3 separate regions of the Homo sapiens genome follow, and regions 1 and 3 are each linked to region 2. The links are contacts of gene promoters, found by promoter capture Hi-C in blood cells and fetal thymus (Javierre and others, 2016). All regions are on one chromosome and are shown on one strand. The core of a region is centred on a gene start or on the middle of the fragment in contact, and the rest is flanking DNA. Distances in the headings are between cores, read along the strand shown.

Region 1 (3,359 bases), core at 538-3,037, 600 kb before region 2:
GCTCTAGAAAGTTGCATAAATAGGCTTCAGAATACCTTGTAACATCTAGAAAAAGCTAAAGGTTTGTGTGCACCTTAAAACACCACTGCCCTGGAGTAATGAGGGGACCACTTTGTCACATGTTATGAAGGGGGATCAAATAGGAAGAAGCTGACCTCAGAGAGCTCTCTCCTATGGGCAGCAAAAAAAAAAAAAAAGTCAATTAAAATAAAAGTTAGGAACCATAGGAGATATATATACACACACACACACACATATGTATATATCTATACACACACATAATATGAAAGCAAAGTGACCCCAAAAAAGATTAATAAAGAAGACAGCTATCATAACTCTTAAATTCCTTATTACATGCTATCAAAATACATCATGTGATAGCATTAGGCATGCAAGATATTTATGTAAAATTTAGTTTCTTGGATCCTAATTTTGTCTCATATGTGACTATAAGGTACTTAGAGATGCGTTTGGTCCACTGTGTCGCACCCTGGTGAGCAGACCTTTCAGAAGCTTGTCAAAGGGCAAGTGTATGCATTGTTTCCTTTTTACCATCTACATTATCTGTTCTTTCTTACAGTACATAATTCTTCATGCTGGTTACTTTACAACCACCACCACAAAAAGAAAGTCTTTGATCTCCTGCAACTAGAGATGTATTTCTGCATTCTGGCATGTGCTCTCAATACTGTATATTTTTAAGAATAAGACAATTAACCAGCTTAAGCTGCTTGAGCATGCTTGCTGATTAGTTTTTACAGCATTAGGGAGTCAGAGAGGGCAAGCGCAGGAGCTTAGCCACTCAGTCTGTCAGTGGTCTGGGTTTGTAATCCATGATCGCAAAGGTAGCTCCACCCACACGTGATAAGCCAGCTGTCAGACAGGGTTCTGGTCCCTTCTGTGCCATTATGTCAGGAGCTGAAGGTGGTTGAGTTAGGACAGTGATGAAATTGATCCTAGCATGTTAGACATCTCCCTCAGTCCAACACAATCCGAGTATAATCTAAGTCTTTGTTGTTCAATGCAGTAGCCACTAGGCACACGTAGCCAATTAAGTTTAGAGTAAATAAAATTAAATACAATTTTAAATTTCATTCCTCCATCATCAGTCACTTTCCAAGTACTCAGTAGCCACAGGGGTAGAATTTTTCCATCATCACCGAAGCTTCTCTTAGACAACCCTGATTCTAAATGCTTTGTGTGTCTACCAAGCGGTGATACTGAATTTTTTGCATCTAGTAACGTGTCACAAAATTATTCTCCTTTCTGTCAAAAGATAGGAAGACCATTTGATCACTATTCTAAAATGTTTGGTGAACCTTGGTTTCGCAGGATCAAGGACTACGGCTGAAGTTGGTTTTGTACCTGAGCCATCCTTTTTGGCATGTTAAAAAATCAAGTTCAAGTTCTTTTCCTTTACAAATAAAGCTGCGAATCAATTCAGATGGTTACAGAGTGAAAGGAGATCTGATCGGAGACCAAGGGCCAAGGATTGTAGGGTGACCAGCACCACGGTCACTTCAAAGTTGTCTTTGTATTTATTCTTGTTCTTACTAGCATATGTCTTTCCTGGTAGGTCTTCACCCAATAAAAATGGTTGTGGTGAAGGAAAACAGTACAGAGAGCAATTTTTTCTCATTTCCTTTGTGCCTCAAAAGCGTGAAACAATTTTGCAGGCCAATAAATGTTAACACTTCTTTGCAAACTACCAGCAAGCTAGAGACAACTTTTTTTTTTATTATACTTTAAGTTTTAGGGTACATGTGCACAACGTGCAGGTTTGTTACATATGTATGCATGTGCCATGTTGCTGAGACAACTTTTTAAAAGTACTATGTTTTTGTTAGGTCAGTGCAAAAGGAATTGTGGTTTTTGCCATTGAATAAAAGCCTGCAGTTGCTCTTTGCAAATAGTGGCTAGGAAAGGAAAGATAGGGCCTCGTTTTCACTTCCTCTTGGCTGGGGCCTCCCAGCTGGAGTGCTGTTCTGCAGAGTTCATTCCTCACACACCGGGTGCAGCCTTTCTCCCAAAGACGGTTAACATTCTCTCGAATTGTCTCCTGACTGAAGTTAAATATAAGCCTGCATTTCATGCGTGTGACTTTGAAGAAGTGACTCAGTCTTTCCAAGCCCATGTATGTCAAGTAGCAGCAACAGCCGAGACATGGCAAGGGCTATTTCTGGGGAGTTAAGAAGCAAAGGACTGTAAAGCCTCATTGCCCAGGACGTAGCAAGCGCACAGCAAAGTTACATGCATATAACTTTGTTGTTAATGAAGCCTCTGACAGTCAGTTTCCTCATCTGTGAAATGGATACTAAATCCTAAGATGTGGGACTTGCAATTAAGTCATGATGTCAGTGGTGCTGTGCCTGGCTTGGAGTGACGGTTGCTCAAGGTGAAATTGCAGAAGCAAGCTTTTCTCAGGCAGCTCTAGTCCTCACTGTTCACCGTTCTATGTTGATGCTTCCACACTCACCCTCCCTTCAGACTCCAGCTGTCCCCTCCTTGGGGATCATACCTTAATGAAACCATAATTGTTTTTTCCAAAATTGCTGTACAACTGCATTCTCCACAAAACACAGTTTACATGTGTAGACACAATCATGGCTCAGCTCTGTGGCTTAATTTGGAAATAATATGTCTTTTCTTTACTCTCTTGTTTCTGTCTTCATTCTAGAACAACATGTGTCACATAGTAAGCACTCATCAAATACTTACCAAGTGAATACATGTTACAGAAATCTATTTCTCTACACTCTCTTCATTAAAAGAGAATTTGCTTCCTATCGGTATATGAGAGGGAGCACAATTTGGCAAGGTTCGAGAAGTACCCTTGAAATGTGTCAAGGCTAGATTTGTCTGCATATTTTTAACAGAAGCCCTTTAAAAAAATTTTAAATGGACAGAAATTAGGTCTTCTGTGTTGCTCTTCTGAGAAATGTGTTACTGGGAATAACAGAACACAATTGCACAGTTCACCACCTATGACGCAGTTGTACATCCAACAAATAGTAATTAAGTGTCTTCCATGAGCCTGGATTCTCCCCGAGGATCTGACAGACCAGTAGGAGAGATAAGTGGTCAAACAAATTATAGGGGAAGCACAACCACAGCAGTGAGGACGTGATGGGTGCACACTGGGCCACAGAGTGCCTTGCCCTCCGTGGAAACTGCGAAAGGCTCAGGAAGGGCATGCCAACAGCATCGAGTGCAGTAGTGCAGTCAAGAGGGTAAAAGATGGGGGCATGGAAGGCAATGGTATTGCCTGAACCGCTCCTCCCACCAGGAAAGAAAAGTTATAACAAAGTTGCGACATATGACAGCTCAGTAGAAGTCCTTTCTGTCCATTTTGCAGCTGG
Region 2 (3,425 bases), core at 229-2,728:
TTCAACACAGAAATTCCTTTGAGGTTTTTAGTTTTGTTCTGTGTTTGTTTGTATGTGAGGCAAGACACCCCTGGATGCTTGCAAAGAAGAGGCAATTTGAAGTGAAACAGGCAGATGTACAATCTGATCCCATAAGTGACCCACTGCAGAACAGACAGCTGGACATATGGACATATGCAGCTGCCTGTCATTTATACACGAGAGTTAAACAGTTGGCAAAGAGAGTCTGGGCCACAGAGTGGTGAGCTGGCTAGAGGTGCGGATCTAGCCATTGGATAACACTGTACTTAAAACACAAAACTCTATCCAAGAAGAGGAAATGATTGAATACGAAGTATTTGAAAAAAGATTTGAAAGACTGAAAATGAAACACTTCCTTACATTCGCTAAGTGAGCTGAGAAAGAATTGCCCAGAAGGGTGATACGGAGGGCTAGAGAATGAAGACGACAGGGAGTGGAAGGAGAGAGCCCACCTACATGGCACCCAGCTTTGCAGAGGCTCCTGAAGACACAAGGTTGAAGGCCCTGGACTCAAAAATTTCCTTGACTCTGCCAGGCAAGAGGGTTAGCTGTTTCAGCAGAGGGTAGAGCCAAGCGAAAGCTGGAGAGTGAATAAGAAATGCTAGGAGCAATTGCGTCAGGTGGGGCAACCAGGACTGTGTTTGCCTTCGGACCAGGGCTGCCGAGTACAGATAGCAGGTGGTTTATGTGAGGCCTGGAGCAGGGGTCATTGCAGGAGACGGGGTTGCTGTGTGCCTATAAATGGAGTGAAAAAGTGAGTGCAAAGAAATGGAAAAGTTAGGAGATGCAGCATAACCTGTGAATCATGATCCCTGACAAAGTGGGGAGGCTCATGGGTGCAGGTGTAGGTGTGTGTGTGTGTGTGTGTGTGTGTGAGATCACATGGCTGTGGACAGAGGTGGGCTGGAACCCCTAACTTCCAGGAAACTCCAGGTTCTTTTCTTCTTCTACCCATAGGTCTGCATTGTGTTTTTCTAGGGTCACTCATCTATTCATCCAACAAATATTCAACAAGCACCTGTTACATACCAGATTATTACATACATGTGGCAGTGCACGTAACTGTGAAGCTGTGTACTACAGCTGCAGGGCGAGGACTGGGGCTTTAGCTCCCACCTTGTGCAATGTGGGATCTTCTCCATCGTCATATCAAGCCACCCCACGTGTATTTAATGTAAGTTGGAACACTGTGCTTGCTACAAAAGTCAGCTTCAGAAGAAGCCCCTCCGTGGATCACCACCTCCCTACAAGCTGCAGTCCTAATCTCCTATGTCAAAATCAGGGACTGCTGCTGCCCCGGGGGGTTTAGAGATGAAGACCCAGACTCTGACTGAGGAGTCTCCCAGTGAAAGGAAGGAGGCAGAAGCCCAGTCACCAGTGACGCCACCCAGCTGAGTGGACCGCGCAGAGGGAGGCGGACGCAGGGCACTCCAACATGGACCTGAGAGGCACACACTGCAATGCAAATCCTCCACGATAGTCCACAGGATGTACTGGGAGAAACTGGAAGGCCACAGGAGAAACGTTTGCTCACGAAAACACAGGCATTTCATGTGCCTGGAGCACGGGATGAAGAATTCCTTAGACTTTGAGTGCCAAGCTAGTGCTTGGACTTTCTTCTAAAGGTCATGGGTGAGCCCTTGGGGAATGTGGAGACCACTCCGGCCTGCGATGGAGAAGGAAATTGTGCCAGAAGCTGGGAAGTCAAAGTTAACCCTCCAGGCTAGATGTAAGTAACGCGTGGGGCTGCACATACGGCTGTGGCAGAGGAAATGGGACAGAGGGATTGATTTTAGTACAGAAATCCTAATTGGGCTTAAAGTAGGTATGGGAAAACCCCTGAAAGTGTGTGCTGATCTTGGTATGTGCAGATATTATTTTCCTCCTGGGGTAAACTTTAATTCTCAAAGGAGTCTATGACCCCCAAAAAAGTCATCTCCCTACTTGAAAGATGCTTGAGTGTCTAATGGCCAGGAGCGGGTGTTGGTGGGATACCAAGCGGTGGGAGGAACACAGTATCGTCCTCAAGCCTCTGACTTCTCCTAGACAGGGTAGCTAAGAGGACTTTTCAGATATGTTGCTTTTGAGGTGTCTGTGAGGAGAGGGAGGCAGGAAACGCAGGCACACGCACTCACAGTGGACGCGTCTTTAGAAAGCTGCACATTCTCTAATTGAGTTAATTGTTCACGCACTGAATGGAGCTGTTTCTGCTCAAGCTAGGGAAAGACTTGTCAGCTGTTTCTTCACTTCCATGACCTTGGAAAATCCGCTGTCTCCACCAGACACTGATCCTTGGCACAGCCACTATTTGATACACTTAACTCTGCTCAGGATTTTAGATCTCAACCCAGGAAATGAGCTACAGTCTCACCCCAGGCAAGTACAGAACATTTTCCTAACCAGGAGAGACGCCTGTGTCACACATTCCAAAGGTAGCCAGCAGCTAAGAAAGCCGCAACAAAGGAAATCAAACAGCTCTCTCTCCCCTAAACGCTGCTTTCAGGCAAGTTCCAAACAAAAATGGAGGATGCACTGCAAATTAAAAACAAAAGCCTGCCAGTCAAAGGCAGTGTTTTTAAACACAGAAAGAGCAATACCACTGCAGGGGGCAGATAAAAGAGCTTTTGAGCATCTCAGAAGCTACTCACACACAAAAGCACCTCTGTGCCTTCAAACAGGATCTCCTAGAAGTTTCCCAAGGTTTCATAACCCAAATACCGCTGGTAGTGATGTGGTTTGGAAATTAACCTTGCTTTTCTCCCCACTGCTGTTTTACATATTAATTAAAGTGTTTTCCTCAGATCAGGAACGCCTGCAGGCTGGCTAGGTTCTGCAGAAGGTGCCTCATTTTCCTGCCGCTTCCCGCCCCGGCCCCACTTGTGCATAGTTCAATGATTAAAACTTCCCCAGGTCAGCTGTAGACGCCTCCCCTCCCTTAACTGCCATCGTGATATAGAACACACACTTTAATGTGGCTTTTAAAAAGTAATCGCTTCCCCACCCCCCAAGAAAGATAGGTCGTGCAGAGCTAATTTCGGGAAGCCATTTAGAAGAAATTGTTGAGAAGGCATTGAAGTATTTGGGTCCAACTCTGCTTACCTCATTCATGGACCTGTTTCTTTTCTTTTTTTTCTTTTCCAGTGCTTGAAATAGGTGTGCAAACAATTCACATATTATAAATACGTTGACTTGGGCCGGGTGTGGTGGCTCACGCCTGTAATCCCAGCACTTTAGGAGGCTGAGGCAGGAGGATTACTTGAGGTCAGGAGTTCCAGACAAGCCTGGCCAACATTGCAAAACCCTCTCTCTACTAAAGTACAAAAATTAGCCGGGCAAGGTGGTCCGTGCCTGTAATCTCAGCTACTCAGGAGGCTGAGGCAGGAGAATCGCTTAAACCCAGGAGA
Region 3 (3,426 bases), core at 1-2,500, 730 kb before region 2:
ATTACAACTCCATAGCATTTGGGAGGAATTTTCATAGTTACGTAATTTGTTTAGCTTTATTTTCTTAAGGTGGTGTGGTAGGATAAACAATTAAATAGAATGTGTTTGAGATGCAAGTCTGTGACTTTTAGTAGCGTCGATTTCTTGGCCAAGATGAAGACTCTATAGTGAACTTTGGTTTTCTTGTTTGTAAAATCAGGTTAATAGACTTACAGAGTTCTGAGATTAAACATAATTAAACAGGTTCTCGTGTCAGTTACTCTCATACTGTATATGATTAAGAAATGATGGATACCTACCCGTTACTGTTGCAAATGGGAGCACTTTAATAACTTAAAAATTGGCCAATTTTATTTTTAGAAAAGCTCTGCATCATCCTGTGTTTAGATGTTAATTACGCTGACTTACCTAATCCAGGGTGAGTCAGCACGAACCACGTTCCTTACAAAACTTCACAAAATGTCTAGTTTGAACTAGAACTATAGAGGCAATAGATCTCTTCTCCTTTCATAGTTTTCTGTGGATTAATAGAAAAGGAGATACTTCATGTGTTTATTTTTATTGCTTACTGTGAGAAAAGTAATGATGAACATAAGGAAGAAAGCAGTTGAGTGTGACCAATAGAATATATGACAATATATGTGGGTCTGCAGGGTGCTTAAGAAGGTGCATCTCTCAGCTCAAGGGTTTGAAGCTGTCTGGCATCAGTAGAGATTCCTTATGTTATTATCTTAGAAAACAGGCAAGCTTTCATGTCTGCAATGAGAGTCACTGGTTTATCCATCTCCTGGTAAGCGACATGTAGAAATTACAGATGGAATGATGTCCTCTAAAGTCTGCTAGGGGACTTGCCTCACAAGCTGCAACTCCACACCCAGACATAATTGTCAATAGAGTGTCCTAATGATGAATACGTGCAAAACTTTTAAGTTATTTTCTTACTGAAACATATTTATTTTACTACAATTATATAAATCCCTTATTAGTCCTTCTTTTGCTAAATATTTTTATGATTTATTTTGGAATACATTTACAGCCTGAGATTTCTGTATAATAGTAATGGCATTTTTTTCACATCTAAAGAGCCAGTCTCTATTAAATGCCAAAAGCTAGCTTTAGGCATTTATGGGTAAAAATCTCAAGAACAATTCTGGGACTTAAATTTTGAAAAAAATTTGAAATACACACACACACACACACATATATATATATAATTTTTAACAGGTTTGCTTTGCTATTGTGTACAAAAGCAACTAGGAGTCATTTAGAAGAATAAAATTATTTCCATTGTGATGAGTGCAAATCTCATCTTATGATAAGTACAAATCTCATCTTTTGACGAGTGCAAATTTGCATGTAATTTTTTTTAAGACCATTGGTTTGAGCGATACATTTTAGATTTCTGTGTTGCTAACAGAAGCTGGACTTTTTGTCTTTTATTCCACTACAAACTTGCAACAAAATGCTTAACAAATCAATGCTGTATTCAGAATCAAACCTAGAAGAATATTAGTGCTTTTATAATATGTTTTTTATTCTGTTTTGCGCTTATTGACCCATCCATCAGTTCTTCACTCGAACGTCAACTCCTGCAGAGTTGAAATTGTGTCTGTGCTTTGTATATAATAAAAGTTCAACGAACATGTTTTCAATTGAAGTTTAAAGAAGAATAAACTCCTAAGAAAAAAGTCTTCATAGTGGATTTCATAGTGGTTCTTCTTGTTCAGGAATAAATGACAATTGTTCCTCCACAGGAAGCTTGACAATTGTTTAGAGTAGGGACACATTTGAGGAGATGTTAAGAAACACTCCAAAACTTCAGCATCTCCAACCTCAGTCTCCTCCAGTAGCTCCAAAAGATTAAATGGATTCTCATCTAAAAGATGAGATACTACAGCTAATAGGAAATTCTGATCGCATTTTCTCTGACTTTATCTTAGTCAGTTCAGGCAGCTAGAACAAAATACCTTAGAGGAGGTAATTGACAAACAGCAGAAATTTATCGCTCACAGTTCTGGAGGCCAGGAAATGTAAGATCAAGATGGCAGTGGACTTGGTGTCTGGTGAGGGCTCTCTGCTTCATAGATGCTGCCTTCTTGCCACATCCACTCATGAGGGAGGATCAAGGCAGCTCTCTGGGGCTTCCTTTATTAAGGGCACTAATCTCACTCGGGATGGTGGCGCCATTATGACCTAAATCGCCTCCCAAAGGCCCCACCTTCTAATCCCATCACTTTGGCAAATTGTGGAGGAACACATTCAGACCATAGCAGAATTAACGAATCATTTCTATTCAAAAGTATTTCTTTTTTTTATTATTATACTTTAAGTTTTAGGGTACATGTGCACAACATGCAGGTTAGTTACATAGGTATACATGTGCCATGTTGGTGTGCTGCCCCCATCAACTCGTCATTTAACATTAGGTATATCTCCAAATGCTATCCCTCCCCCCTCTCCCCACTCCACAACAGGCCCTGGTGTGTGATGTTCCCCTTCCTGTGCCCATGTGTTCTCATTGTTCAATTCCCACCTATGAGTGAGAACATGCGGTGTTTCGTTTTTTGTCCTTGCGATGGTTTGCTGAGAATGATGGTTTCCAGCTTCATCCATGTCCCTACAAAGGACATGAACTCATCATTTTTTATGGCTGCATAGTATTCCATGGTGTATATGTACCACATTTTCTTAATCCAGTCTATCATTGATGGACATTTGGGTTTGTTCCAAGTCTTTGCTATTGTGAATAGTGCATCTCACACCAGTTAGAATGGCGATCATTAAAAATCAGGAAGCAACAGGTGCTGGAGAGGATGTGGAGAAATAGGAACACTTTTACACTGTTGGTGGGACTGTAAACTAGTTCAACCATTGTGGAAGTCAGTGTGGCGATTCCTCAGGGATCTTGAACTAGAAATACAGTTTGACCCAGCCATCCCATTACTGGGTATATACCCAAAGGATTATAAATCATGCTGCTATAAAGACACATGCACATGTATGTTTATTGCGGCACTATTCACAATAGCAAAATTATTTCTTATAATAAGTACAATACTAGTGTAAAAAATATAGTTCACATAGCTCAGCAGTAATTTGGTACTTCCAGTGGTACTTTTCAGTGTGTGGAAAACTGTACAGGACAAACAACTGACTTCTTCAACATATAAAATGCAGAGAAAAATTGTGAAAGGAGGGCACCTGTAGATTAAAACCTATCTAAAGACATGTACAACAGCTGAATGTGTGGGCATTCTTGGGCCCTAATGTGCTAAATTATGTATAAAAGCTATAATTAAAGTAATGTGCAATCTGGACAGTTGATGAAATTTTTAAAAATTATTATTTATTGGATTATGTGTGATAAAGATACTAAAAAATGTGTTTCTCTAAGTTCTTGTATCTCAGAGAATTATACTAAAGTAG

Evidence for each region. Contacts are between HindIII fragments. The CHiCAGO score rates a contact against its expected background, and 5 or more counts as called.
Region 1: a fragment that was not itself captured here is called in contact with the fragment with the promoter of LINC00676 in region 2 in 1 of 17 cell types (monocytes); the score reaches 5.0 in monocytes.
Region 3: a contact is called between a fragment that was not itself captured here and the fragment with the promoter of LINC00676 in region 2, in 1 of 17 cell types (endothelial precursors). The highest score is 5.5, in endothelial precursors.

The regions. Positions count from the first base shown.
Region 1 is chr13:109,129,800-109,133,158 of GRCh38, forward strand. The region is part of intron 31 of MYO16 (myosin XVI); the gene reads left to right. Among named protein-coding and RNA genes, the nearest start is that of MYO16-AS2, 30 kb to the left of the region's middle. The HindIII fragment of the contact is 1,249 bases long and covers 1,164-2,412 here.
Region 2 is chr13:109,726,796-109,730,220 of GRCh38, forward strand. It overlaps LINC00676 (long intergenic non-protein coding RNA 676), which reads left to right and starts at 1,479. Exons shown (of 3, transcript NR_103846.1): 1 at 1,479-1,750; 2 at 2,238-2,397; 3 at 3,163-3,239. The HindIII fragment of the contact is 6,623 bases long and covers 1-3,425 here.
Region 3 is chr13:108,993,135-108,996,560 of GRCh38, forward strand. The region is part of intron 21 of MYO16 (myosin XVI); the gene reads left to right. Among named protein-coding and RNA genes, the nearest start is that of MYO16-AS2, 110 kb to the right of the region's middle. The HindIII fragment of the contact is 1,011 bases long and covers 746-1,756 here.